4 separate regions of the Homo sapiens genome follow, and all the other regions are linked to region 4. Evidence: promoter capture Hi-C in 16 types of primary human blood cells and fetal thymus (Javierre and others, 2016). All regions are on one chromosome and are shown on one strand. The core of a region is centred on a gene start or on the middle of the fragment in contact, and the rest is flanking DNA. Distances in the headings are between cores, read along the strand shown.

Region 1 (7,081 bases), core at 471-2,970, 200 kb before region 4:
CAAGGCACAGAAAACAATTCAAATATATAAGCCTCTGCTGTGCAGTATGGGTAGGGATGATTTTGAAGAATGTTCATTCTTAGTCTAGTCCTACTATTGTGTTCATTATCCTAATAGCTTATATGTGGATGATTCTTCCTTGTCAAAGACAGCAAATAGGGCTTTCTTAGTCATCCTCAATAGTCCACTTAACTGTCTACCACAAATATTCTAGGTCCATCTGACAGTATTTCATTTCACAGTAAACCAACTTTTGTGAAGGACTCAAAAGGTATTTGTTTTAACAATTCAATCAAGTTTGCTTTCTAAAAAGGTTTGTCTTAAAAAGTGAAGGTTGTTTTCAGGATCATTTAAGTTTCAGACCTCATTTGTTGATACCTTATCTCTCAGAAACTTGTTTTTCAACCCAAACAAAACTAGTTATCTAGTCAAAGGTTTCAGTGGCTATTATTGTGTCAACAATCAAGACCCAATTATTGAGTAAGATCCTTAGAAAAAACAGAGTCACAAATAATTGTTAATTGATTTTTCTTATTTAACCATGGTAATTAAAATTTTTATAATATGCAATGTGACTTGTCTCATAACTACAAAGAGGAAAAGTAAAATTAATCAAATGTCTTTGCTAAGTTAGCAAAGGAACTGTCACTTCAGTCAATCTTTAAAAATGACTTCAAATTACCGTGGCTCACACCTGTAATCCCAGCACTTTGGGAGGCCGAGGTGGGCGGATCATGAGGTCAGGAGATCGAAACCATCCTGGCCAACATGGTGAAACCCTGGCTCTACTAAAAATACAAAAATTAGCTGGACGTGGTGGCGTATGCCTGTAATCCTAGCTACTCGGGAGGCTGAGGCAGGAGAATCACTTGAACCGGGGAGTCAGAGGTTGCAGTGAGCCGGGATGTTGTCACTGCACTCCAGCCTGGTGACAGAGAGAGACTCCGTCTCAAAAAAAAAAAAAAAAGGACTTCAAATTAGACATGACACATGGAAATGAGATGTTCACTTATAGTTTAAATATAAAGTATGTGTGTGTGTGATCAATTATGGGGTCTTAGTAAAAACCTTGTTGGTATAAGTAGAGGTGTGCTCAGATTAATGACATATTAAGCAATATATTTAAGAGGTTTAAGGATTAATATGCCAAAGAGCTCACCTTGCCTGCTAACCAACTAGAAATAAATAAGTATCCCCCATGTCAAAGATAAACAGAAAAGGAATGAATTTCCATTAACACACATACCAACAGAGAACAAAGATTAAGAAAACATTTTATTCAAACTGCTCTAGGGGGTTTAATCATCTCAGTCTTAACTTTCACAACTCAACATATTCATTAAAGATAATTCAAGATATCCATTCTATCATATAAATACAATGCTAATAGCTTTGACTGGTAATATCAAGGTCACATATTATCAAATATAAATGCACTATTATCATCCCTTTTCTTCATCATTGAAGACAGACATAATAAATTGTAAAAAGGGGGCCCAAGTGAAGACTAGAAAGAATCTCTGTTAAAGAAATAGATTTTTGCAAGTTAGTCCCAACTAACATTTCAGGATTACTATGTGCCAGACATTATTCTGAGTGCTTTATGTCAATTAATTCTCATAACGATCCTATTATGTTAGTACTCTTATTACCTCCACTTCACGGATAAAGAAACCAACCAAGATGAAAGTGTGGTTTTATAAACAGGAACTCACCAAAGAAATTAACCCTATCTTAAGGTGATTTTGAAAGAAATTATGGTTAGTTATTAGATATTACCTAGAAGAGGAAAAATAGAGTTTCAGGTAGATGGAGAGGGAAAGAGGAAAACAGCAGATAGAAGGAGGAGAAAAAAGAAGAGGAGGGATAAAACTAAAAAAGAAAAAAGAATCTAACATCTCACAAACAATTCTAAAGAACATTCTAACAATCTTAACAACCCTGTGAGATAGGGATTAAGGGATTAACCCTATTTTATACATGAGAAAACTAAGGCTCATAAAAGTTAAGTGGCCATCCGAAATTCTGAACTCAAATATTTGTGATTCTAAAGTCCATGCTTGGCTGGGCACGGTGGCTCATGCTTACAATCCCAGCACTTTGGGAAACTGAGGGAGGAGGATCTCTTGAGCTCAGGAGTTTCAGACCAGCCTGGTCAACATAGCAAAACCCTAAGACCCTGGAAAAAAAAAAAACAACCTTAAAAAAATAAAAACGTAAATAAATAAAGTCCATGCTTTTTTCCATAAGTCATGCTGCAAAAGAAAATAAAATTAAGGGTCAGGTGTGGTGGCTCACACCTGTCATGCCAACACTTTGGGAGGCCGAGGTGGGCGGATCACCTGAGGTCAAGAGTTCAAAACCAGCCTGGCCAACATAGTGAAACCCTGTCTCTACTAAAAATATAAAAATTAGCCGGGCTTGGTGGCAGGCACCTGTAATCCCAGCTATTCGGGAGACTGAGGCAGGAGAATCACTTGGACCTGGGAGTCAGAGGTTGCAGTGAGCCAAGATGGCGCCATTGCACTCCAGCCTGGGGGACAAGAGCAAGACTTCGTCTCAAAAAAAAAAAAAGAAAGAAAGAAACATATCAATTTATTTTTTTGTGAACATTAATATATTTTATACCATATTGGGCAGATTCATTCAACTCCTTAGTGGATTTTATGTTTTGGTGTGTGTGTTTCATGTCAATCCCATACTGCTATGATTTGAATGTGTCCCCAAATTTCATGTATTAGAAACTTAATCCCCAAATTCATTATGTTGTTTGAGGGTAGGGCCTTTGGGAGATAATAAGGATTAGATAAGGTCATAGAGGAAGGCCCCCATGATGAAACTAGTGGCTTTGTAAGAAGAAGAAGACTTGAGCAGACACACACCCTCCCTCTTGCCATGTGATGTCCTTCACCATGGTACTATGCTGCCAGAAAGCCCTCATCAGATGTCAGCACCCAGAACCAGGAGCTAAATAAATTTATTTTCTGTATAAGTCGTCCCTGTTGGTATTCTGTTATAGCAACAGAAAATGGACTGAGACACACATGGAAATCACAGCTTCTAGATCCCATGTGATTTTAGTCTCAAAACATCCTAGGGCCTCCAGGTTGAATGGGGTAAAGTAGAAAGCTGGACAACTAAACTGGATGGCATGGAAGTGAAGTAATGTCCAGAGATGACCTAGAACAGATCAGTGCCAGCCTATGTATACAAGTGGAATAACTCTGGTGGCAGCTGCCAGTTCTGTGCAGCCCACATGAGTTGAAGGAGACCCCAGTTGGGACAAAAGGGGACAAGTTTCCCTCTCCACAGAGAGGGGGCTTTCAATAATTTCACTTTGTCAAGTGGGTTTGGATTCAAGACACGGGGAAAGAGATCTAAATCAGGAAACCAAGACAAAAGCCAAGTTTGGACAAGTAAAATAGGAGGTTAAAGGGAAGGCTATGATCCTAAAAGCACAGGAATAATTAATAATAAGTCTGGAGTAGCAGCCAAAAAATTTCACACTAATGGGTTGGTGGAACAAAACTACTGCTGTGATTTACTTGTGGCTTTATTGAGGACTGACCCAGAAACTCAGGAAAGGCTGAGTTTGTCCACTTGGGGCATGAAGAACGTCATCTGAAAAAAGTTAAGCAAGACAGGAATTCAAAGGCAGCCTGACGTTATAGAACACACACTTGTGAAAAATTATGATTAGGTTATATAAAGTTAATAAAAAATTTAGAGCCAAAGCTAACTAAAGAAACCAAAACCCAATCTGCTACAGAGGCAACAGAAGATCCAATTCCTCTCATGTAACAAAATAGATAAGAATATTATCAAGGACAGATGGAATCTGTTGTCAATCTAAGGGCAAGTTAGCAAACTAAAATTCAAAAGCCTCATATTGTATTGCCTAAATTGACACTTGAAAATGTCACAGATGTCACACTGGAATTAAGGAACTTCAAATGGCAGGTCAAATAACCAGGAATGAAATCTGCAATCTCATGTTTAATTAGCAGTTGCCAACCTCCACTTTAGGACAGGACAGGTGAAGACTAACAGACCAACACGCTACTCAAAGAGAAGTGTTTTGTGTTGAACTGAGGTGAAAGCAAGCAAAATAAACACCTTAGAAACTCACTTATTTTCAAGAAACATGAACTAGTTATGGTCTTGTGTTTGATTTACCATCACTGGCTTGGAATAATGTGCTGGGAAATATCTACTTCATCCTAATACATTGTGTCTTTACATAGATATAGGTGAAAAGTTAAAATTAAATATCAATATATCTTTTTCTGGAAAACATCCTCAGTACCATAATGCTTACCCATATATTCTGGGTGAGCAGCACTATTCACTCTCATCAATTCCAATAAACACTCTTTGGTAAAGTCAGTGTTCATCAGTAGAAATGAAACATTATAAAGAATCAAAGGAGACAGCATAGTTCCTATAAAAATGAAATTAATGCCCTTACTAAACAATAAAGTCATGTCAATTAAATCACTGATATATTGAATTTAATGCATATTGTACTGAGTTATTGAAATAAAGCAGATGGTGTATAATATTTAGCATGTTACTCAAAATGCCCTTCCTTAATATAAAGATGGACAAATTCTTTTTTTTTTTTTAACAGAGCCTGGCTCTATCACGCAGGCTGGAGTGCAGTGGTATGATCTCAGCTCACTGCAACCTCGGCCTCCCGAGTTCAAGTGATTCTCTTCCGCCAGCCTCCCAAGTAGCTGGGATTACAGGTGCCTGCTGCTATGCTCAGCTGATTTTTGTATTTTCAGTAGAGATAGGGTTTCACCATGCTGGCCGGGCTGGTCTCAGACTTCTGACCTCAAGTGATCTGCCCACCTCAGCCTCCCAAAGTGCTGGGATTACAGGCGTGAGCCACCACACGACGACCAAGATGGACAAATTCTTATGCTATGTGTTAGAGGGGTAAATATCAAGCTACTAAAGGGTATCAACACACTGATTACAACAATTTCAAAAAACTGTAGGTACACATATTAAAACAGACTAAAAAGAAATATAGCAAAATGCTAGTAGTAATTGTATTAGGGAATTATGATTGATTGTTTTTCTTATCTTTTCCTGATAATTTTTCTAATGTGATTAACCTATTTCAATAATAGGAAAAAACTGAATAAAAATAACTTTCTTATGGAATTATAAACTGATTTTGAGATCATTAGACAGGCTTACAAGATATACTTTCAGACAAGCTTACAAGATATACTTTCTGGTTCTAAATATCAGTCTTGTTCTAAAATGCCTTCAGGCAAGTCTTTATATAAGTTCTATTAATGAGTATTGCAGGCACATTGCCCCAGTAGCTCCAGGTCCCAGAAAAAAAAAAATTTATCAAAAAAGTTAATGTATAATTAAAATTTTTATATTATTACTTCTGCTCCTTTTACTCAGTTTACCCCTTACAGTGCTCTTTAATCCACAGCCTAGTGTAATACTTCTTGCCAAGGTTGATGAAAGGAAGCAAAAGGAAAGCATTAGCAATATTTCCAAAAATCTGGTGCAACCTAATTCAGAAGGAAAATTCACATTTTTACTATCCACTTTAGTTACCATTCTCTTACATTAGGTTGAGCAACTAGTAAAAAGTATAACTCAAAACTACTGTTAATCTCACAAAGTATATGCTAGTAACTTTACAAACACGAAGAACTGTACTAATTAAAAGGCTTTGTGGAAAAAGAAAGAATAAAAATAGTGAATTCTAATAAACTATAAAAGGATGAATTTGATAGAGTAGAGCAGTATGGCATGTAATTTATATATTGAAAGCAAAAGAAAACGGGGAGACTAGATAGAATAAGGATCTTGGAAGTATTTATATATACTGTTATATCACTTATAGTGGTGTAAGTAAGAGATACTCAAAAAGCAAAAGAACAGATACCAGATACAGACATCTTTAAAGCACTTTACAAATTCAAGTTATAGGTTGTACATCAAAGAATAACTAATCCAATTGCTAGAGTTTGGAATATAATCAACATGCCCATCGTTGGTGTCCTAGTCCATTTTGTGGTGCTATAACAAAATACCACAGACTGGGTTATTTATAATGAACAGAGATGTATTTCTTACAGTTCTAGAGGCTGGGAACTCCAAGGTCAAGAGGCCTGCAGGCCTGCATCTGGCACGGTCTTTCTTGCTGCCTCATCCTAAGGCGGAAGGCAGAAGGAAAGAGAGCATGCACAAGAGAACAAGAGGGGACTAAACTCTTTTATAACAAAGCCACTCTCAAGAAAATGAAACTACTCCCTCAATAATGACATTAATCCATTAATGAGGGCAGAGCCCTCATGAACTAATCACTTCTTAGGCTCCACTTCCCAACATTGTTGCATAGGGGATTAGTTTCCGACACATGATCTTTCGGAGGGACACATTCAAACCATAACAGTTGGTTATACCAACTTTATCTAATAATATTACTACCTATGTTTGTATAAAAACCATTTTTCAAGTGCTTTCACATGGTTGTCTCGTGATCCTTTCTCAAATCCAGGGGAGAATTACTGAGGGAAAACCAAATTTATCAGGGGTAAGAGTCTAAACCAAAACAGTTTTCTAACCATGCAATGCTCATTTTATTATAGCACATTGCCTTCAATTACTTTAATGCCTCCAGCTTATGTGATTCCAGTACACAATGAACACTCATTAATTATATATTATATGAATGAATTTTGATCCAAAAAAGTAAATAAGAAGGAATACAATTGAGGCTAGAGATGCCCTGTGCCTCATTAGTACCATGTGATCAATATGCCACATCATAATAAACTACAGCTTGACTCTCCAAGGTCTCTTGTTCCCACTTGCTGAAAGATAAAAGACTTATTTAGAACAACTCCTAGCTGACTTAGTAGTTGTATCAAATAATGTGGATATCTATTCTGAAAAAAATGTAATTCCTTCATCATATTGAGAGATCTATGATATTATCAGGCCTACGTGACAGACACAACTCTCCAAAGTTGAGAATAATTCAAATCCAGTCTCAAAAGGTAACATCTTACTACACACTAAGATACCCAAAACATGGGGAATA
Region 2 (7,380 bases), core at 194-2,693, 160 kb before region 4:
TCCTTGTTATAAAGTGACAAACACTTGACTAAATTGTGTACTAGTGTTTTGTGGAAGGCAGAACTTGCTTGCAATGAAACTAGGTATTTAGCTAAGGAGATATATAAGCAAAGTGTTGAACGAGTGGCTTAGTTCTTCCTGACTGCTTATAGTAAAACGTGAATAGAGAGAGAGGAATTAAAGAAGGAATTGTTACACACAAAAAAACCCAAAACTTGAAGATTTAAGAAGTTCTCAGCTGCCCATATTGCAAAAATAAGAAAGCATATTCTGAAAAGCACACCAGAGGTGTTGCTAGACTGTCACTTGTTAAAGAGTTTATGGAATTATACAAAGAGAAACATTGCAAGTTTGAGCTGAAGGGGATTGAGATGGGATGAAATAAAGGAAGGCTTTTAGACCTCTTGGATTTGATAGGATGGGATGATAGTGCCATTTGGCTGAGAACATGCACTATTCATCAAGAGGCAACAATGACCCTGAAGGTGATTAAGAGGGTGATCAAGGCCACTACCTTAGTTTTAACCAGCCAAACAGCCTCTGCCTGAAGCTGTTGGGGTGGGACCCTGACCTGGAACAAAGGAGCAATGCAGCCACCACAGTGTATCCAGAGAGCAGAACATCAAGCAAAAGAGGATTATCCTCAAGCCTTAAGATCTAATGAAATTTGCCTTACCAGGACTTGGATTTGCTTGGGACCTGTCACTCCTTTCTTTCTTCTGAAATGACCGTTTTTGAATGGAAATGTTTATCTTATGCCTGTTCTACCAGGGTATTTTGAAAGCATATAACTTTTTTGATTTTACAAGTTCACAGCTGGAGATGAATTTTGCCTCACTATATATCATAAGTCCAGTTTCACCCATATTTTATTTAGATGATATTTAGATGAGACTTTGAACTTTAGAGTAGATGCTGGAATTAGTTAAATCTTTTGAGGCTATTGGGATGGAATGAATGTATTTTGCATGGAAGAAAGACATGTATTTTGGGGGACCAAGGATGGAATTTAGGGACTGAATATTTGTGTCCCCCACCCCCAAATTCATATGTTAATGCCCTGACCCCCAATATGATAATATTTCAAGATGGGACCCTTGGGAGATAATTAGCGTTAGATGAGGTCATGAGTACGTGGCCTTCATAATGAGATTAGTGCCCTTATAAAAAAAAGGAAGGAAGACCAGCTCTCTCTCTCTCTCTCACTCCCTCTCATTCTCCCTCACTCTCCCTCTCTGATGATAGAAAATATCATCAGGATATTAAAATATCCCTATCTTTTAGAAAGAGGTCAGAGGGGAAACCAGAGAGCAGGTTTGAGGGGTGAGGACTGCAAGTGCTAAAGCTTGAACAGATTATCAAACTCCAAATTATTCATGTGATGATGCCTACTCATTTGGGAGGGAAAGAGGGAGATCCCTCCCTCCATACACAAAAATTAATTTTTAAGGTATAAAATACCCATATATAAAAACCAAAACTATGTAAGTATTAGAAGTAACTACAAAATATATGATACAAATCAAAAGTTTTATAAAAGAAAAGCTTGACAAGTTGAGTACATAAAAGTTTTAAACTGCTACAAAAAAAGACAACTTGAACAAAGTTAAAAATAAGTGACAAAGCAAAAGATTGCTATATATGTATTACAAAGGATTCATATCCAAAATATGTTTTGTTTTGTTTTGTTTTGTTTTGTTTTTGAGACAGACTCTCACTCTGTAGTCCAGTCTGGAGTGCAGTGGTGCAATCATGGCTCACTGCAGTATCCACCTCACCGGCTCAAGGGATCCTCCAACCTCAGCCTCCAGTAACTAGGACCACACATCCAGCCAATATTTAAATTTTCTGTAGAGAAGGAGTCTCCCTATATTGCTCAGGCTTGTCTTGAATTCCTGGGCTCAAGCGATGCTCTCACCTTGGCCTCCCAGAGTACTGGGATTACAGATGTGAACTACCACGCCCAGTCCCAGAATATGTTATAAATCTCCTACAAATCAAAATGAAGAGACCAAAAAATTTTACAGAATGAGCAAAAGATATGGACTGACCATTCACAGAAGAGATCATACCAAACAACAACAACACAAAATGGTGCTCACCTTAGTAGTAATTAGGAAAATGCAAAATAAGGCAAAAAGTCAATGGCATTTTTGATCCTTTAGATTGTTACTAATAATGGCTTTCTGATAGAATCACAAATGTTGGCAACGTTTGACACTTCTTAGTGTTTTCCATATATTAACTCATTTAATCCTCACAGTAACCCTATGATTAGGTGCTATATTGTCATCCATATTTTAAATATATTAACTCATTTAATCCTCACAGTAACCCTATGATTAGGTGCTATATTGTCATCCACATTTTACAGTTGAACTGAGGCACAATATGGCTTAGTAACTTATACTGAGGTCTCACAGCTAATAAGTGGCTCTAGAGTCAATGCTCTAACCATTTCATTACATTGTGTATCAACTGGTAGCAACCTTTCTGGATGATAATTTCGCTGTAATAAAAACTTTTAAATAAATACACACTCAGACACATGAACTGTCAATTCTTGAGAATTGACAGTTCTGCTCTCTGGAATCAGAGGACTTAGGTTGGAGTATGAATCCACCTAATTACTGCCAAGTGCAAACAAGTCACTTCACTTCTCTGAGTTTCAGAATTTTTATGGTATTTATTTTTATAGATTTAGTGAGTACAAGTACAGGTTTGTTACTTAGATATTTGCATAATAATTTTCATTTTAAAATGAAAATTCTATATGGTTGCATTGTGAAAATTAAAAGAGATTATATATTAGAAACACTTTGCAAATCAAAAACACTTTAAGACATTCTCTGATCTTACTGAATTTTTGTACTTTAAGAAAGCACTGGTGCTTGAGTTTTTGAATTTACTGAATAAAAATATTTCAGTGGAAAGCTAGTAGTCTTTCTGAATTTTCTTTTTTTTTTTTTTTTTGAGACAAAGTCTTGCTCTGTTATGGAGGCTGGAGTGCAGTGGTGTGATCTCGGCTCACTGCAACCTCTGCCTCCCTGGTTCAAGTGATTCTCCTGCCTTAGCCTCCAGAGTAGCTAGGATTACAGGCCTGCACTGCCATGCCCAGCTAATTTGTTTTGTTTTGTTGCATTTTTAGTAGAAATGGGATTTCACCATGTTGGCCAGGCTGCTCTTGAACTCCTGACCTCAAGTCATCTGCCCACCTCAGCCTCCCAAAGTGCTGGGATTACAGGCGTAAGCCACTGCGCCCAGCCAGTCTTTCTTAATTTGATGAGCCTGTAATTTAAAAAAATTAAAAAATCAGTTTTGGAGTTGGTCATCAGCATTTTCAGGACGAAATACTAAGCTAAGAATTCAGCAGGCACTGGGAGTGGCAGATGACAAAGAAATAGGACTCATAGTGCTTCCCCTTCCAAGTTTACCATTTCCTTGTGGTTACACAACATGCACACAGGCAAGAGCTTAACATTTACAAAATAGTAGAGATGCTGTGGGGGTTCAGTGCGAACAAAACACATACAGCAAAGTCCTTGAAAGCAGAAGGCTTTTGGTGTCCAATAAGACCTAATTCATAATCCTGGCTTCTTCAGTTTCATAAACTAGAAATCACACTACCTACCAGGAAGGATTATCCTCAAAATCAAATTAGTGTAAATAAAATGGTTAGCACATACAGTATCTGGCATGAAGTTAAGAGCTTCTGCTATTATTGGCTGCAAAGAGAAGTCAGAGAGAAGAGTGAGCACAGTTCAGAACATCAGGCAGTAATTTAGTAAAGTGTAGTGTGAGAAAACATTTTCTAAAAGAAATATGTTTCACACAGGCCTTAAAAGAGAAAAAGAAGAAATGACATTTCCAAAATACTTGCTTTTAGCATGGGAGTCTTTACATGCTGGGACACATTAATCTGAGAGTGCGGTAACACACCAGTAGCCAAAATTTAAAAAGAATAGGAATTTTGATGATGAATATAGGAAAAGTAAGTTGCACTGTTTCAGCTATCAATTTATATCTACATACCAGTGCATAATGTTATCAAATTCATCACACTTTCAAAAAAAGAATGATAACCTCTCTGATTAAAAAAAAATCAGATTTTCACAGAAAAGGCAACATGGATGCTTTCTACTATTAAATTGAAGTATTTTCTATCTAGAGGTAAAGCAGCAAGCAGAACTTCAGAGCAACTTAAATTCAAAGTTGCCTTTAAAAAAAAAACTAATTGACTTTATTTTTTGAGCAATTTTAGGTTTACAGAAAAATTGAGTGGAAAGGACCAAGTTCCCATATACCCCCTCAACGTTCTAGTTCCTCCTATAATTAATATCTTTCATTAGTGATACATTTGTTACAACTGATAAAACAATATTAATACATTATTTTTAACTTAAGTCCATAATTTACATTAGTGTTAATTCTTTGTATTGTACAGGCATACATCATTTTTTGTACTTCGCTTTATTGTGCTCCACAGATATCGTATTTTTTACAAATTGAGGGTTTCTGGCCACCCTGTGTCAAGCAAGTCTATTGGCACCATTTTTCCAATAGCATGTGCTCACTTCATGTCTCTGTGTCAGGTTTTGGTAATTCTTCCAATATTTTAAAGCTTTTTCATTATTATTTTTTTGAGAGTTTGTATTATTTTAATTATTTTCACATGCAGAAAACTCAACAGCATATATTTAATCCAGTTTGGTGGCAAGTTCTTTAGCCTTTGCCTTTTCCAGCATGGCAATGTGAACCACAGATTTGGGACCCAGCACATTGCCTTCCCCGCGATGGTGTCCAATAAGACCTAATTCATAATCCTGGCTTCTTCAGTTTCATAAACTAGAAATCACACTACCTACCAGGAAGGATTATCCTCAAAATCATCATATTTGTCATTGACTTTCATCATATTTGTCATTGTAATTGGTCCTGATAGCTTCCACCAGCTGAGCCAAAGCTCGTTTGTCTTCCGAGTTAACGTGTGTGAAGGCGACAGTGGTGCAGGTCTTCCTGTGGACTAAACATCCCAGTCTTGCCTTCCACTTGATAATGCAGTCAGGGACCCCCATTTTATGACACAGAGCAGGCCAGAAGACAACCAGCTCGATGGGATCCAAGTCGTTTGCAGTCACCACCAGCTGAGCCTTCTTGTTCTCCACCAAGGTAGTGATGGTCTTAACTCCTGCTCAAAGGACAGGTGGTCTCTTAATGGGGATGTCCCCTTTGCCAGCAGCTTTCTTCTTAGCCTGGGCCAACAGCCCCTGTTTCTTCTCTTGCTTCACCTCTGGTCTGTACCCGTGGGCTAGCTTAAGCAGTTGTGTAGCTGTTTGGCAGTCCAAGGCCTGGGTGAACTGGTTAATCACAGGAGGCACTTTTAGCGGGTTATAGAGGATAGCTCTTTGCCACTGCAAACTGATACAGCCGGGCCATTTGATAAAGGGGGTGAGGTCTCTTTTAGGCTGGATGTCCTGTCCCATGCCTTTGAGGCTGGATGTCCTGTCCAAAGATTCACACCTTTCTTGGCCTCCTGCTTCTTCCCAACAGCAGGGTCTGGAGCCACCTTCCTCCCCTTGGCCTTCTTTCATTCTGGCATCTTGAGCACTGGAAGGATTCATTATTATTATATGTGTTACAGCGATCTGTGATCAGTGATCTTTGATGTTATTATTGTAATTCTTTGAGGGCTGCCACAAACCACATCAATATAAGACTGCAGATTCAATCAGTAAATGTGTGTTCTGACAGTTCCACTGACTGGTCATTCTGCCACATCTGTCCCTCTCTTCAGACCTCACTATTCCCTGAGACACAGTAATATTGAAATTAGCCCAGTTGATAACCCTAAAATGGCTTCTAAGCATTCAAGGGAAAGAATGAGTCACATATCTCTCATTTTAAATCAAGAGCTAAAAATGCTTATGTTTAGTGAGGAAGGCATGTTGGAAGTGAAGACAGGCCAAATGTTAAGCCTCCTGCACCAAATGGTTAGCCAAGTTATTAATGCAAAGAAAAAGTTCTTGAAGGAAATTGAAAGCACTACTCCAGTGAACCTACAAATAGAAAGTGAAACAGTCTTATTGCTTCAAATAAGCCTTATTGCTTATATAGAGAAAGTTTTAATGATCTGGCTAAAAAATCAAACCAGCCATAACACTATCTTAAACCAAAGGCTAATCCAGAGCAAGACCCAAATTCCTTTTTAATTCTATGAAGGCTGAGAGAGGTGAGGAAAAGTTGGAGGCTGGCAGAGGTTGGTTCATGAGGTTTAAGGAAAGAAACCATCTCTATAATGTAAAAGTGCAAGGCAAAGCAGCAAGTGTTGATGTAGAAGCCACAGCAAGTTATCCAGATTTAGCTAAGATAATTGATAAAGCTGGCTACACTAAACAACGGATGATTTTCTTTCTTTCTTTTTTTTTCAGATGGAGTCTCGCTCTGTCGCCCAGGCTGGAATGCAGTGGCGCAATCTCGGCTCACTGCAACCTCCGCCTCCCTGGTTCATGCCATTCTCCTGCCTCAGCCTCCCGAGTAGCTGGGACTACAGGCACCCGCTACCATGCCCGACTAATTTTTTGTATATTTAGTAGAGATGGGGTTTCACCATGTTGGCCAGGATGGTCTCAATCTCTTGACCTCGTGATCCACCCGCCTCAGCCTCCCAAAGTGCTGGGATTACAGGCGTGAGCCACGCACCTGGCCAACAGATTTTCAATGTAGATGAAACAGCTTTCTATTGGAAGAAGATGTCATCTAGCACTTTCATAGCCAGAGAGGAGAAGTCAATCCCTAGCTTCAAGACTTCAAAGGACAGGCTGACTCTCTTGTTAGGGACTAATGCAGCTGGTGGCTTTAAGTTGGAGTCAACATTCATCTATGATTTCAAAAATCCTAGGGCCCTTAAAAATTATACTAAGTTGACTCTGCCTGTGTTCTGTAAATGGGACAAGAAAGTCTGGATGACAGCACAGTGGTTTACAGCATGGTTTACTGAATATTTTAGCCCACTGTTGAGACCTACTAGTCAGAAGAAAGGTTCTTTACACAATATTACTGCTCATTGATAATGCACCTGATCACCCAAAAGCACTGGTGAAGATATACAAGGAGATTAATGTTTTTATGCCTGTTTACACAAGATTCATTCTGAAGCCCTGGATCAAGGAGTAATTTTGACTTTTAAGTCTTATTATTTAAGAAATACATTTTGTAAGGCTATAGCTGCCATAGATAGTAATTTCTCAGATGAATCTAGGCAAAGTAAATTGAAAATCTTCTGGAAAGGATTCACCATTCTAGATGCCATTAAGGATATTCATGACTCATGGGAGGAGGTCAAAATATTAACATTGACAGGACTTTGGATGATTTTCAGGG
Region 3 (7,348 bases), core at 4,764-7,263, 220 kb before region 4:
TTGGCCCTGCTGAAAAGATGGATTTCACACTTCTGACAACCAGTAGCAGAAAGCATTTATTTACTAGAAGTTGAAGGAATTAAAATATATTTTTATGTGACTCCACCCCAATTAATTTATTTTACATCTTACTGAAATTAAAGGGAAAGAAGGGGGATAAATTGCCACCATTTATCATTTATATATTTATTCTATTTACCACATGTACCTCATGTGCATAACATCGACACAAAGCTCTTTGCTAATAAGTGAAAACACTAATACAGAAACAAAGCCAAGAGAATGCTACACAAAAAATTCTTCCTGGTTTAGTGAAAATCCCTAGTCCTAAGGCTTTAAAGCTATTTTCCACGGTTTACAATTTTCTTTACTTATGGTTGAAAGTTATTAATGCTCAGCCTCTACTTTAGGTGATGAGAAGGAGAGCTGAGAGTCCAAGATCTTTTAAATACCAGAAGGGGAGAGTCTCTTTTTTTCCTTCAACTTCTATTTTACATTCCGGGGTACATGTGCAGGATGTGCTGGATTATTACAAGGTAAACATGTGCCATGGTGGTTTGCTGCACAGATCAACCCATCACCTAGGTATTAAGCCCAGCATCCATTAGCTATTCTTCCTAATGCTCTACCTCCCCTCACCCCAACCCCCAACAGGCCCCAGTGTGTGTTGTTCCCCTCCATGTATCCATTTGTTCTCGTCATTCAACTCTCACTTATGAGTGAGAACATAAGGTGTTTGGTTTTCTGTTCCTGCATTACTTTGCTGAGGATAACGGCTTCCAGCTTAATGACAGACTGGATAAAGAAAATGTGGTACACATACACCATAGAATACTATGCAGCCATAAAAAGAAAGGGAAGGGTCTTTAACTGCTGCTACTTGCTTGCTAATTCCAGTAATGTGCTGATAGAGTCAAGAACTATCACTAGGTCCAGAAATAGAGAAAGGCTGATTTAGGCTGAAGTTCTAGAACGTGACTATCTTATTTCTAACCAAAACAAAAAAGAGACATGTACTGCCAAGATGTGTAGTTCTGATAATGCATCAGAAATCAGGACAAAAAAAACCTAAAGCAGAAAATGACCAATTATACCAAAGGAGAAAACCATCTTCTGCTCAGGTTTCACAAAGGTTCCTAGAGACAAGTGATTTTTATATAATTATACTCATGGAAGCCAAACCAGAAGATTAATTTAATCCAAGAGAATAAATATTGATTGAGCATCCACTCATTGAAAAACCCCACGCTTGACACTTGTAAGACACAAATGTAAATAAGCTAAGAGTTTACCCTCACAGAGTCTGCATTTCAGAGAATACAGACATGTTCCTTTAAAAATGCAAGATAAAATAAGTACCACAAAAGAGAATCATAAGTGCTCTAGGAACCAAAAGGAAATGAGGTAAAGGCCAGACAGTATATAGTAAGCAAGGAAAAATAGACATTCATAAGGAATAGTAACAGTAGAAAACTTCAGTTTTCAAACGAGCTAAAAGATTAGAGAAGGATACAGGAAAAAGAACTTGTTTCCGGGTCAAAAGCAACAAAAATAATGACTGGGAAAATGGAGAAGTAAGGAAACAAAATTCTCAAGGTAAATTCTTTACCCAATTGTCTTGTCTTTTAAAAAGACAATATTTGGGGAAAAAACAAAAAACATTTCTAGGCTGAAAAATGCTTCAGATGAAATTTTAGTATGCCAAAGATTAAAGGGTGTTCACAATAAAATGTTATCAACAACAGTAAAGGCCAAGTTCCCATGATTCTACAGATACTTACTGAGGCAAAATCACAGTGTGGCCAGAAAGAACTTGAGAGTGCATGGGAGGAACGCTTGGCTAAGTACCAAAAACTGAATCAAAACCAGTGCCCAGAACATCTATCGAAGGCATGTCTTCATGAGAAGTGTTTAATGTTGTCACCACTTAAATTCTTCTCCAATCTTTTCAAGAAAAAGTATTTTGCTAGACATTTGCCTTTTAGAAATGGGATTTCAGGATTAGTAATGAATGCACTTAACAACTATATGTAATATTTTTTAAAAAAGGAGAACTGTAGAAATACATGAAAACCACAGCTTCTCCAAAACTTCATTTGAACCATTGATTCAATATAATTCCTTACCAAACTAGTTACAAGTTGCAAATATGCAGAGAAATAGACTAAATTAGACTGCATTCATGCATTCTTCCTACTCCTACCAGACAGGAAAATTAAATATATTGATAAAACAAAAACAAAATCAAACAAAACTGTGGCCTATCAAAACTGTATATTTGGACATTCTGGGTAATTGGCAAAGGGATAATCTGGCTCTAAGATAAAAAGGGTGACCGTGCCTCTTAGGAAATTTTATACAATTAGGAAGAGACACCAAAAAATTTATTTTATATTACATAAAAGGATATCTTCTAAACAGATAACAGAATAGTGAAAATCTTTCTGAGCCACCACCACCACAACTTGGGTAGAACAGGAGTTGGATCAATGTATTTCTAGAAAGAAAGGCAAGGAGAAAGCCATAATGGTAGTTTAAAAGTTTGTTAGGTTTAGAAACATTTTTTAAGATGTCCTCTAAAGGGTTCTAAAGTATTTCTACAATAAATAGTACACTAGCCTTGGTGGCTTATGCCTATAATTCCAACTACTCAGGAGGCCGAGGAGGGAGGATTGCTTGAGGACAGGAGTATGAGACCAGCCTAGGCAGGTAACATAGCAAGACACCTGTATTATACATACCTATACAAATAAATAAATAATTTTTAAATAATAAAATAAGAGGAGCCCCTTTCTCCTCTACTTAGAATTTAATTTTACCCAGTAACATACATTATATCAAACTTGTCCAACCTGCAGCCTGTAGGCTGCATGCGGCCCAGGATGACTTTGCATGTGGCCCAACACAAATTCATAAACTTTCTTAAAACATTATTAGTTTTTTTGGCAATTTTGGTTTTAGCTCATCAACTATCATTAGTGTTAGCGTATTTTATGTGTGGCCCAAGACAATTCTTCTTCTTCCAATGTGACCCAGGGAAGCCAAAAGACTGGACACCCTTGCATTATATTTAGTTAAAAAAAAATTACCTGTATATAACTAAAAACTGTAAAATATGTCATAACACATTGCAAGAGAAGAAACTACTACCATCATATGATTGTTGTGCTGGTTCATGAAGCAGTGTTTGGCATCTGCTTGTGAGAACTGGCACTACATGTACTCATAATTCAAGAATGTGTGTCATCCCCACTTAAAAGTCAAGAGCTCAGTAATGAACCTTTCCCACTTTGAGACAAAAATACACATCAAAAACCTTCAAACACCCCTTGACAAAAAAAAACCTAACAGTCATTCATTTACCCATTTGTTCATTCATCAAACCCTTGAACACCTGGGGGCTCTATGCAAAACACTAGGCTAGGCAATGAGAATACCAAGATATGCAATACACAGTACATGCCCTTATGGAACTCACAGTCTACAGTTTGTAAGACAAAGCATGTTTACTGTCTAAAAATGCCAAAATCTAATCAGCATACTAAGTTTTTAATTAGAAAAAGTTTAATCATTTCTGATGATACATTTGTATATACATGTGAGTGTGATACATATACACCTACATATTTAAAAATGTACACACACTTTTTCAGTGCTTCAATTTTAGATAACTTAATATGGTTTGATATGGAAAGAGCATGAGTCTAGGAGTCAAGACTTATGTTCTAGTGAATCTCAGCTGTTTATTAGCTACATGACCTAGGGCAGGTTACTTAACTTTCATTAGCCTGTTTCCCAGTACATGAAATGAAAGTAATAATACCTGTTTTACCTACCTTACAGGCTTTTTATGAAGATAAAATGGCAATAGATGTAATAGTGACTATTAAACTGTAGAACTCTACACAAACATGTTATTATAATCTAAAACATGAGAACTCATTATTTTAACTTTCAAAGCTATTAAAATATCTAGAATACTTTCATGTAAGTTTTTAAGTGAAACAATCTCAGCTTAGTAGCAAAGTCTTACTTCTTTAAGACTGTTGAAGACTTAATGAAAATTAAGTTAATGTTGAAATTAATGTTGAGTTAATATGAATGAGAACTGAATTAAATGTTAAAGAACTGCTACCTGTCAAAAGTTTCTCAAAGGACCAAATGCATCTTAATCACCTGGGAGCTTGTTAATCACATAGACTGGTAATTCTGAATTTCTAGTGGGTTTAGAAATCCACATATTTATCAAGCACCCAGGAGATTCTTTTTTATTTTTATTCATTCATTTTATAGACAGGGTCTCACTATGTTGCCCAGGCTAGAGTGCAGTGGCTATCCACAGACACAATCATGCTACTCTACTACCTCCAAGTGCACTGCTGCCTCCCAGACTCAAGCAATGGTCCTGACTCAGCCTCCCAAGTAGCTGAGGTAAGAGGCATGCGTTGCCATGCCTAGGTCCAGGAGATTCTTAGACACACTAAAATGTAGGAGCCACTGACATATGGTGAAAGACTACCTTTTCCAACTGACCTTATTAACAAATAAGATGAGAAAATAATGGTAACTTGATTAGAAATAAAAATAATGTGGAATAATTACTGCATTTTCCAGCTCCTCTCAAAATATTTTTTAATAAGAAAGGGTAACATATTTGGGGTATTCATTTCACTACTGTAAGTAGTGCTTAAGATAATCTGAGTTGTTACTCTTTTTCATAACTAAAAAACACAGCCACAAGCAGTTGAGAAATATACAGTAAGAATTTGGGGACATTAAATATAAAAATCCTCTTTTCCCTTGAGATAATGCTATTTAGCATAAATGCCATCTACTTGCAATGTAATACTACCATCCTGTTTCATTATATAGGTAGCAATGTAAAAACACATAATCATAATCAATGCAAATATGCTTTCTACAACTTAATAGTAAATGAGACTTCTAACATGTTCCAAAACAGAATTTTATATAAATACTATATCAAGAAAATAATGGAATTTTAAGAGTTCTTTGTCTTGGCAAATTAAATATAAAATTAGTGATACCTTCATACTATTTCAGCAGTATCAATAATATTCCAAATAGTATATATTCCTTGCTGAACTAATACAAATTTCAAATGCGCAATGTTAAACAAATTCTGTCTATGGAAAGTAAATTTTCCTAAGGCTTTTTTTTTCAAACTAAAAAAATATATAGTAGAATAGCCATTAAAGTGTATAATGGAGAATTTAAAGCTATTCATGTGGTAAAAATATACTTGAAGGCCAGGCACTGGCTCATGCATATAATCCTAGCACTTTGGGAGGCTAAGGCAGATGGATCACCTGAGGTCAGGAGTTCAAGAGCAGCCTGGCCAACATGGTGAAACCCAGTCTCTACTAAAAATACAAAAATTAGCTGGGCATGGTGGCAGGCGCCTGTAATCCCAGCTACTTGGGAGGCTGAGGCAGGAGAATCTCTTGGACCCGGGAGGCAGAGGTAGCAGTGAGCCAAGACTGTGCCATTACACTCCAGCCTGGACGACAAGAGCAAAACTCCATCAAAAAAACAAAAGAGAGAATTTATTTTTTAAATTTAATATTAAATGCTATTTTTAAAGTAAGAGATTAACTAGAAAAATAAATGCAATTTATTTTTCAAAAATGTATCTTTGCCAAAATAATTGCAACATTAAAAAAAGTATTTGTAAGAAAAATTTTGTTTATGTAAAATTGTTGCCATCTTACAGTAAAACTACAGTGCAGGAAATATTTAACTAGTAAAAGTCAAATAAAGCACTGTTAAAAAGCTTCATATAGTTCTTTAAATATCCCTTACATTAACATTTAAGAAACAAAAACCTACACACACTTTTCCTTGCAGCTGCTTTTAAAAAGCGTATATAAAGTTCCAAAACAAACCACTAAAAAAAGCCCTACATTATTGTTGCAAGTTTCTTACCAACAGACATTTCTCTGTTTGAAACAGAAGACTGCCTGTTCACTGAAATGACTAAAAACACGAAGTTGATCATTCTTAACTAGGCCGTAAGAAAAAAAAATATGCAATAAGAAAAATAATAAAGTCACTCAGTAGTGGACAAAATAGTAACAAGACAGTTACAAACCCATCATTATATGTGTGACTAACATTTTATTTTGTGTAGAAGAAAATTTCCCCTTTAGCTTATATGTAAAGCGTGTCTTTGCAGATTTCCTTTCTTCCCACCCTTCATGTTCAAGTCAAAGAAAGCTTAGAACATTCAAAACACATCTGTAAATTTCAACTAAAATTTGAAGTAACAGAACAGAGCCTGAAAACAAACAAACAAAAAAAATTATTCTATTCTCTAACAGCACCCCACTTCCTCCAAAAAAAAAAGCCAAACAAACACAAAATAATACTTTCAAGTTTTAACAAATTTTCAAGCAACATATTTGATACATTATGTAAAAGTGAAAACATCTCAAGGTCATTACAGTGTGATTATACCTCCTTTGTGGGTAACTATAACATTGTATTATCTTCAGACAGAAAGGGATGCATCAATGTCTCTATCTGCCCAATGCCAAAAGAAGTAGAATCAACAGACAGGAAATTCAAAGGCTCCAAATAAAAGAAAGCACAGTACTGGAACCAGGGAGTTGGCAAATGATTCTCTATTCTTTTGGCATCTGCACATACTTTAATGTCCAATCAATGCTTACCTCCCACTAAAGCCATCCATGTCACCCAAAATGTTCACTCCCTCCTGTGAAGGAACAAAGCCTGTGTTCTAGGTCATTTGGCATTTATCATTTGCTTACTTATGTATCCTTTTCCCTGTGTATCATCTAACTTGGCAGGTATACTTTAAGCTTTTCAAGGGAAGGACTGTTTTCTTCCTTTCTTGGCTTCACCATGTTAATTCATCTTTTGTTCTTTCTCAAAGATGTCAAGCTTCCTGCCTCCCTTTTCTCTCCTACTGCCACAATCTCCACTTTACGTGTATGACCACAAACTTAAATGGGCCCTCAGCACTATCAAAAGACTCATTCGTAATCTCAAATCAACCCACTCTCCAAAATAACTAATTCACTGCTTCTTCTATAATACCTCCAAACTCATGCTCAGCTCATTCCCTTGTTTCTTACTTCAGTGAGCAAATACAAGCTATCAGAATAAAACTTCATCTTCCCACTCCAAAATCTACCCATATACTTTGCTTTCAATATTGTTAAAATGAATGCACACTCCCTGCTCCTGTTAAAGGTCACTCTCTCCACTTGTGGACTGCATTCCATGATTTCCCACTTATTTGAAATTTTGCTCCTAGAATTATTCCTTCCAGCTCCTGCATTGTCGATTCTTCCCTTCCCAGTAG
Region 4 (7,794 bases), core at 1,105-3,604:
ATACATAAATGTATGTATAATGTATATTGTATATGTGTTGCATGTTCAGATTATGAATATCCAGAAAGTAAATAATTTTTAGAAATAGGTAAAGATAAATTGTTTAAGGTTTGAGAATTTCGAATGGATTTCCTTTTCAACAAATGCTTAATAGTATTTCATCTGTGCTGTATTGCTTTCTTGAACTGTTTCCTGACCCAAGAGATTACCTAATTGCTCTACTGGCCCTAAAATAGCACAGCATTGGACTCTCTTATTATCTATCAGTCATGCTAGTCTTACTCATGGAGGCATAAACAGCACTGAAAATGAGATTTTAGGTCAACATTTCAGCTATTACACATAACTACCTAATACCTAGTTCATAAGGAAATGTCTTTTTCTGTGAAGGAAAACCCAGTAAATATCTTGTCTGAACATGTATCTCATAGGTTAATCTTTCCTTAGCCTAATTCACTGCCTCCCTGTGACTGGAAGGAAAGAAGTGACTCTAGTAAGGGGGAAGAGATGGCCCATCCAGCTCTCAGTTCTTATTAAAATTTTTATGTATTTTTCTTTTTAATTTTAATGGGTATATAGTAGGTGAATATGTTTATGGGGTACATGAAATATTTTGATACAGGCATAAGATGTATAATAATCTTTCAAGGTAAATGAAGTATCCATCACTTCAGGCATTTATTATTTCTTTGTGTTATAAACATTCCAATTATTCTCTTTTGGTTAGTTTAAAATGTATAATAAATGTTAACTGTAATCATCCTGTTGTGCTATCAAAACTAGATGTTATTCATTCTATCTAAATATATTTTTCTACCCATTAACCATTCCCACTTCCCCATCCCCCACTGCCAGCCTCTGGTAACCATCACTCTAGTCTCTATCTCCGTTAGTTCAATTGTTTTAATTTTTGGCTCCCACAAATGGAGTGCCAGCTCTTAGTTCTTTACCCAACAACTTGGTCAACCTCTCCTTATGTCCCTTTACTCACAATAAAGAAAAAAAGAGTTAATCCCTTAGCAAATTATTTCCCCTTTCAGTTAATTTAGTCAATATGTTTTAAAATGTTGAAAGTAGGAAAGGCTGATACACAGGGCCATTGCTTCTTCCTTGCCTGTATGGTTTTGTTACTGAAAAAACAACTCCATGTCAAAGTCTGATATTCTCGGAAATGCTGAATTCACTTGGTCTAATTCAATTTTAGATACACCTTGGTGAATTTTGTCATAAAAAACAGGATTTTTGTGATTAAACAAGATATCTACCCTGGGACATAATCCTATTCTAAGTACTATTTTCCAATGACTTAACAAAAAATCGATTATTATATATCAAATTGTGAAATCTTCCCCAGGTTATGTTCTGGAAAAAAACATGGCAATTTAAAAAAATGTAATTTGTGCATGTATTTGGAAGAAGAGATGCCTAGTTTCTAACCAAAATAATATAGGACAGTTTGTAAGATAATTGTTTTGTAAGGATATACAAACTTAATACAGAAACAAATAGCATAATTCAATTTTTGTTTTGAGATTTTTTTTTCAGTAAGGATTTTAACATCTTTGGACTTTTACATCTAATTAAGTTTTGATCAAGCTCTTTTTTTTCCTTTCTTTCTTTTTTTTTTTTTTTTTAAGAGACAGAGTCTGCTCTGTCGCCCAGGCTGGAGTCTCTCGACTCACTGCAACCTCTGCCCTCCTGGGTTGAAGCAATTCTCCTGCCTCAGCCTCCTGAATAACTGGGGCTACAGGCGCGTCCCACCACGTCCCACTAATTTTTTGTATTTTTAGTAGAAACGGAGTTTCACCGTGTTAGCCAGGATGGTCTTGATCTGCTGACCTCGTGATCTGCCCACCTTGGCCTCCCAAAGTGCTGGGATTATAGGCGTGAGCCACTGCGCCCGGCCTGATTTAAGCTCTCTTAGCAACTCAATGCACAGAATGGTAACTTACTACAGCGCTATGTTTCTTATAAACACCTGTTTACGGAGTATTAAAACTGCACATGAAGGATATTTAAGGAATTTGGGTATGGGGTAATAAATGGGAAGGGAAACATCATTTTTAGGGTTAGCGATCCTTAACTGTGTCCTTGCCTTCTTTTTCTTTCTCAAGTCTGGTCTCTGACTCGAAAAAGACGTCAAAGACCTGTCAGAACTAGATAAAATTATGATGGAGGTGTTTTGAAACACTAATCCTGTGGCCCCTGTCAAAAATTTAGGCTTTCATTTATTTAGGCCTGCCTTGCCTCAGCGATTAAAACGATGTCAGCCAGGTCGGCTGCTTTGCCGCAGCGTCCCCTTGCGGCCCTATCAGGACCGGAAGGAACACGCAGAAGCCGCAGAGGCTGTTGGGAGGTTGGGCCTCAGGCGGTGGACCAGAAGGAGCTTACTCGGGCCCTGACGTTGTCAGGAGGCCCTGGGGGATCCTGCTGAAGCTGCGATTTGGCGCAGAGCTGAGATGTCTGAGCTCTAGACACAGGGACCTCAGTGTCAAAAGATTTGGGAAGATGAATTGGGTCGGGGGGTCCCGGTAAGTTGTGCAGCTGGAGTTTGAGGCTGGGACATTCATTCCTACGACTCCTCTTTCTAGTTCCTGGCGGAGAGGTCACAGCCTTAGCTGGAAAGAACTTGGTAGGAAAGGGTCTTTTTATTGTTATCCAAATCGGGTTGGAGACTCTAGAACCATATCTCTACTCCTCAGACAAAAGTAACTCAGCTTCTCCCCACTCACTGCCTTTACAAAGGCTTCACCTGTGGGGGCCACTGTGAGTAACCTTCCCTGCTGCCCCTCCTCCCCTTCTCCATGTCCTATGCTCTGTTACTGTAATGAGGCCTTTTAGCACCTGAGCCCTCCCCTACTGCCTTCTTTCCGTGTCTACACCTCTTTTAGGTTCTTCTGAGTTGATATATAGTCTTTGCATGAATTTGGAAATTGTGAAACAGCCCAGTCCCAGCTGCACTTAAATCAATGGCAGGGCACCAGTATCACCATAAATCCAAATTGTAGTTTGTATTTTAAGGGGAAGTAAAGTGAACCGTTTTTACTTGAATAACTTGAGCGAATTTGCCATTTATTTTGTATTTAGGATTGATCACATAAAGCGTGATAGATTGAAAATTTAGTGTTATATAACCTATTCATTGTTATTGACCTTAAAGTCCAGCTGGGTGGAAATCATGTGGGCCTGTAATTTCATTTGATCAAAATTCTTGATGAGAAGAATTGTTTTGATTGAAACAAGAAGCCATTACATGTAATTTTTTTGTCACAAGTAGACCCAGGACAGTAATTATATGTTAGATTATAATGCGTTTGAATTCTAAAGAATTTATCGGAGGAAAGACAGCTTTTGTATTCACTAAGTATTGTAGCTATGCCTGATAATTTTAGCATGCACTTTTATCCTGTTGAATATGCTAGCATTGTATTTTAGAAATTTACCTGAATTACTTCTGGCTAGTGTTCTGGCAGCAGACGTACTCTGGAGAAAAGTGAAAATTTACTTACAGGCTTCAACAGGATTTAGTTGATACATGCTTATAATGTGATCTTTTTGAATTTAGTATTCTTTAAAATATTAAATAGGATTATATGAAATAATTTTACAAATGCTTAGCACTATTAAAATGTAGATGTTGCTATTATTCTGTCATATATCACAAACTTTTATGGCTATTTTGGGAGTAATATTTTAGTTGCTACTGGGAGGATGCAAAAACAATATACTGCAGGAAACATGTAACCTAGGATTGTGTTTCTGAAAATGAGGTGTACTGCAGCACCTGGAGGTGCAGCATCTGGAGATATTAGGTACCAGGGGGTTTAAGAAACATGGTTACATCTCCCCGAAGGATCAGTTTTAATCAGAGATTAGGAGAAAATATGTGTTTAAATTTATACAAACGTCGAAGTCAAAATAAAATGTAGAGACAAATCTCTAAATTTAACGTTTTATTTGGAAATGGCAGAATTGCAATTCAGGGCATACACAAAGTATGTCTTTGGTATGTCTGAAGAACAAAGAAAAGGGTGGGGATTTTACAAAAAAAGAGAAATGTTACATATGGTTTTGAAAGAAAGTTCATTGACAGTAGTGAAGTTGTGAGAAGCTGGCAAGCTTTGACTGGTGGGTGATGGTGGTAGTTAAAATGACCTCCTGGAAGGTCATTTTAGTAGTTATTTGGTATAACTGGTCCTAGGCAGTTTCAGAAGCTTGGCTTGCAGAGAATCATGTTTTTGGAGCAATGCTATGTGCCCTGTGTGCTTTTGCCTCCTGACATCTCAACTCTGATGTGGTTGGACATCACAAGAATGACTCAATTTGTGTGATCAACTTTCACACAAACATGGTTGCATTGTAGAGTGAAATGAAAAACTCTTGTGAAATGTTCAGATACACTGCAATTTTAAATAAATTTTATGTGGCGGGATAGGCTTCTTAGGGTAAAGCCCCAGATTGGTAATAAAAAAAAATGGGTGTCTCCATTTTCTATTTTCAGAACAGGCAAGGGTACACAAGATTAGTTGATCTTGGCACTCATAGTGTCCTAAAGGGCCTCAGTCTGAACTAGTGCTTTTAGTAACTAGTGGCAGCTGATGGAGCTAATAGAATAGAAATTTTAATCTTTATCCCAAACCATGCTGGAGTTCTTTTTACCCCCCTCCATTGTTAGGGATGTTTTTGGCTGAACATTTTAAGAAGAACTGTTAGGAACTTAAAATATAGACAAGTGAAGTGATTGGAGAACAATTCCTTCAGAACAATTCCAGAGCCTTCAACAGAAAGTAATTCAGCAAATATATTTTTTACCTGACTACCTGTTTAGGGAATTGGTAAGCTGTACAGGGGGATTCAGAAAAGAAAAATACATCTAGTCCACAAAAAGAACCTAGGAGAGAAAGTAGAGATTAAAATTAGGCAAATCACTATAATAATAGATATTTAAATAGGACTTAATATTGTCACAAGCACTGTTCTAAGTGCTTATTCATTTGCTCTTGAAAATGCTATGATTTATATACAAATATTATTCCCATTTTACTGATGGGGAAACTGAAGCATAGTTCATTAATGTTAAGTGACTTGACTAGAGGCACCCAGCTAGTAAATGGCAGAGTTAGGATTTGAGTTGAGTGTGCTTGCCCTCCATCCTATGCTGTATAGAAAGATGAGTGCCACAAATAAAGTAAATAAAAGTACCACAAAAAAGGGCTGTGGAAATTCAGAGAAATGAGAAACAGGAAGTTACACTAAGCCTTGAAGGACAGAAATAGTGCACAGAGCAAGCACCAAAGGGAAACAATCGAACACTGGTTCTTAAAAGTTAAAATGGAGGTGAAATAAATAATTGATCAAATTGGAGATCTAGGTTTCAGCAAGGCTTCTTAGGAAAGAGAAAGATGAGTTGGAAGGGAAGGTATTAAGGAACTTGAAAAATGTTAGTTTGCGATACTAGGTGAGTCTGCATTAAGACACTTAAACAGTTAATAAAGGGCTCTCTATATACTTTTTCTCAAGTGAATGAATGAAGCAAATTTATGTTTTAGTAATAGCAACCAGATTGCATACACTAATTTGAAGTAGATTGTTCTTGTATATTATAGAAACCTGATATAGTGAGTTTAATTGCAGAATCATTTGATAGCAATATCTTTACAGTTTTATAGTTGCAAAGATCTTTACAGCTTTTCTTATATAAACCAAACTGGGCATTTGACCCTTTGCTGCTCTTCAATTTAGGGACTTTACCAGTCATATATAAAATGTCTTTTTGTAAAGGAAAGAGCCAGTGATTAGAAATAAGCTTCCCTTATTTTCCTTTTTTAGTTGCTTACTTAGTTTGGCTTTACTGTTTTGGTTTTGGCCATCTTTGCAAGATATCATAACAGTGCATTTCAAACCAGGGTCTCACTGAGGGCAAAGAGATTGATCTAAGAAATTAATTTACATGTATATGATAGTAGTTCCCAAACTACTGTCTCTTTGAGACTTGCTAATCAATGATAATAGCAGGTTTTTCAATTTAATGGACTTTTTTCTTTTTTTCTGAAGTTATATCCTTGTTAAATTTTTTGATACTAAAATGCCCCCTTCTATTTTTAATCCTTTTTTGACAAAATTAAAATATCAATCTATTGTCAGTCCCACCAGTTAAAAATTTTTTTTTACTTATCTGGGACTTAGTGACCTACACCTCTCACATTGGTTTCATATTTGCTGGAAGGCACCACGGAGACCCTGTATTTTTCTAATCAGGTTGAAGTGCAGATTTGAGAGACAACATATGTAAGCATTGATTTGTTTTTAATTTTGAAAAGATTCTTTTATTTTCTTGTTTATTAATGACTAGTTTCACCAAATTCATACTTACCTCAGATATGAAGGTGGTAGTAAGAAAGGAGGAACATATAACCAGACTTTGGTCTGCAAAATGCTATTCAGAATCAGATCGGCTATAGATCTATAAATATACCACTATACATGCAGTATAAGATTTTTTTAAATTAGGGAGGTTTATTTTTATAATTCAGATTGGGGAATCAATCAATGTCATAAGAAAGGCCTAGGCAAAGTTCTGTTGGAATTTAGGTGAGGGAGAGGTTACCATTTGTAAATGTAGGCCTAGACCTAGTTCATCTAAGCAAGATATTATTGAGTGCTATGTACCAAGCACTGTGCCAGGTGTAAGTACAAAGTAACTGAAATTTAGTCTTTTTCTATAAGGTTGTAGTGTATTGGGGAAGAAAAGTATGACTTGCCATTAAGTTAGAAAATATTTAATGTCAGAGGCCAAAATAGGATATAAAAAATAAATAATGTGAACCATAGTAGAACATAGGATAGGTTTAGCTGAGAGTTTGGCTACTCAGAGGCAAGGACAAAAGAAGGTTCGATGGAGAAAAACAAAACAGAAAAGCATTACCTAAATAGTTGGAGATAATGTCTGCATATGTCTGCTTGATGGTGAGTTTGTAAGCTAGACAAAGAAGTTGAAAATTTATTCTTCGTCTGTTAAATGTGGGTAATACTTAAACGTACAGTGAACATCATCCTAGTTTGCCTGAAACGGTCAAGGTTTATGCCTGTGGTCCTAGTAGCATGCCCAGTTTAGCATTTGTCTCAGTGTTTGTTTTTTAACTAAATATAAACTACCATTAATAGTTCTGTTAAAATGAGCCTCCTCAGTAGCTGCGATTACAGGAACCTGCCACTATGCCCAGCTAATTTTTTGTATTTTTAGTAGAGATGGGGTTTTGCCATATTGGCCAGGCTGGTCTCAAACTCCTGACCTCAAGTGATCCCCCCACCTCGGCCTCCCAAAGTGCTGGGATTACAGGCGCGAGCCACTGTGCCCGGCCTATTGAACATTTTTATAAGCAGGTACTCTACATTTTGATGGCATTTTGTTCAAAAACAGTTGGAAATTTTTATTTAAAACATTCCATGAATGGCCTGATCAAAAATTCAACTTTTGAAGCTCTTAGTAAATTATAATTATTGAATATAAGGCTTTTAAAATTTAATTCTGCACAAGATTTAATTTTGAAAATATATTTTTGATATTCAGATATATTGGAATATTGTGACTAGTACAAAGGTTTTGATGGAGTGCCTACTTTTAATTGGTTATTTTTTTTTTGTAGAAGAACAGAATGCAATTGAAGGAGCCTACAGTTTTGTAGCATCTAAATTTAGATAAATATTTAAAAGAATCAAATATTGCTGCTTATTTGTCAAGTTTTATCTTGTAAAAAATAAGGTATAAATGGAATGACAAAGAGTACTTGTGAA

The links. Contacts are between HindIII fragments. The CHiCAGO score rates a contact against its expected background, and 5 or more counts as called.
Region 1: a fragment that was not itself captured here is called in contact with the fragment with the promoter of REDIC1 in region 4 in 3 of 17 cell types (non-activated CD4 T cells, total CD8 T cells and naive CD8 T cells); the score reaches 8.0 in non-activated CD4 T cells.
Region 2: a contact is called between a fragment that was not itself captured here and the fragment with the promoter of REDIC1 in region 4, in 2 of 17 cell types (naive CD8 T cells and activated CD4 T cells). The highest score is 5.4, in naive CD8 T cells.
Region 3: a fragment that was not itself captured here is called in contact with the fragment with the promoter of REDIC1 in region 4 in 2 of 17 cell types (naive CD4 T cells and total CD4 T cells); the score reaches 6.0 in naive CD4 T cells.

The regions. Positions count from the first base shown.
Region 1 is chr12:39,428,006-39,435,086 of GRCh38, forward strand. All of the region lies in intron 1 of KIF21A (kinesin family member 21A), which reads right to left. Among named protein-coding and RNA genes, the nearest start is that of KIF21A, 12 kb to the right of the region's middle. The HindIII fragment of the contact is 7,012 bases long and covers 1-5,226 here.
Region 2 is chr12:39,461,747-39,469,126 of GRCh38, forward strand. It overlaps the pseudogene RPL7AP74. Among named protein-coding and RNA genes, the nearest start is that of KIF21A, 22 kb to the left of the region's middle. RefSeq lists an enhancer at 5,780-5,829. The HindIII fragment of the contact is 200 bases long and covers 1,344-1,543 here.
Region 3 is chr12:39,399,804-39,407,151 of GRCh38, forward strand. All of the region lies in intron 1 of KIF21A (kinesin family member 21A), which reads right to left. Among named protein-coding and RNA genes, the nearest start is that of KIF21A, 40 kb to the right of the region's middle. RefSeq lists an enhancer at 3,464-3,513. The HindIII fragment of the contact is 443 bases long and covers 5,793-6,235 here.
Region 4 is chr12:39,623,829-39,631,622 of GRCh38, forward strand. It overlaps REDIC1 (regulator of DNA class I crossover intermediates 1), which reads left to right and starts at 2,355. Exons shown (of 13, transcript NM_001031748.4): 1 at 2,355-2,531. The coding sequence starts at 2,509. The HindIII fragment of the contact is 5,259 bases long and covers 1-4,117 here.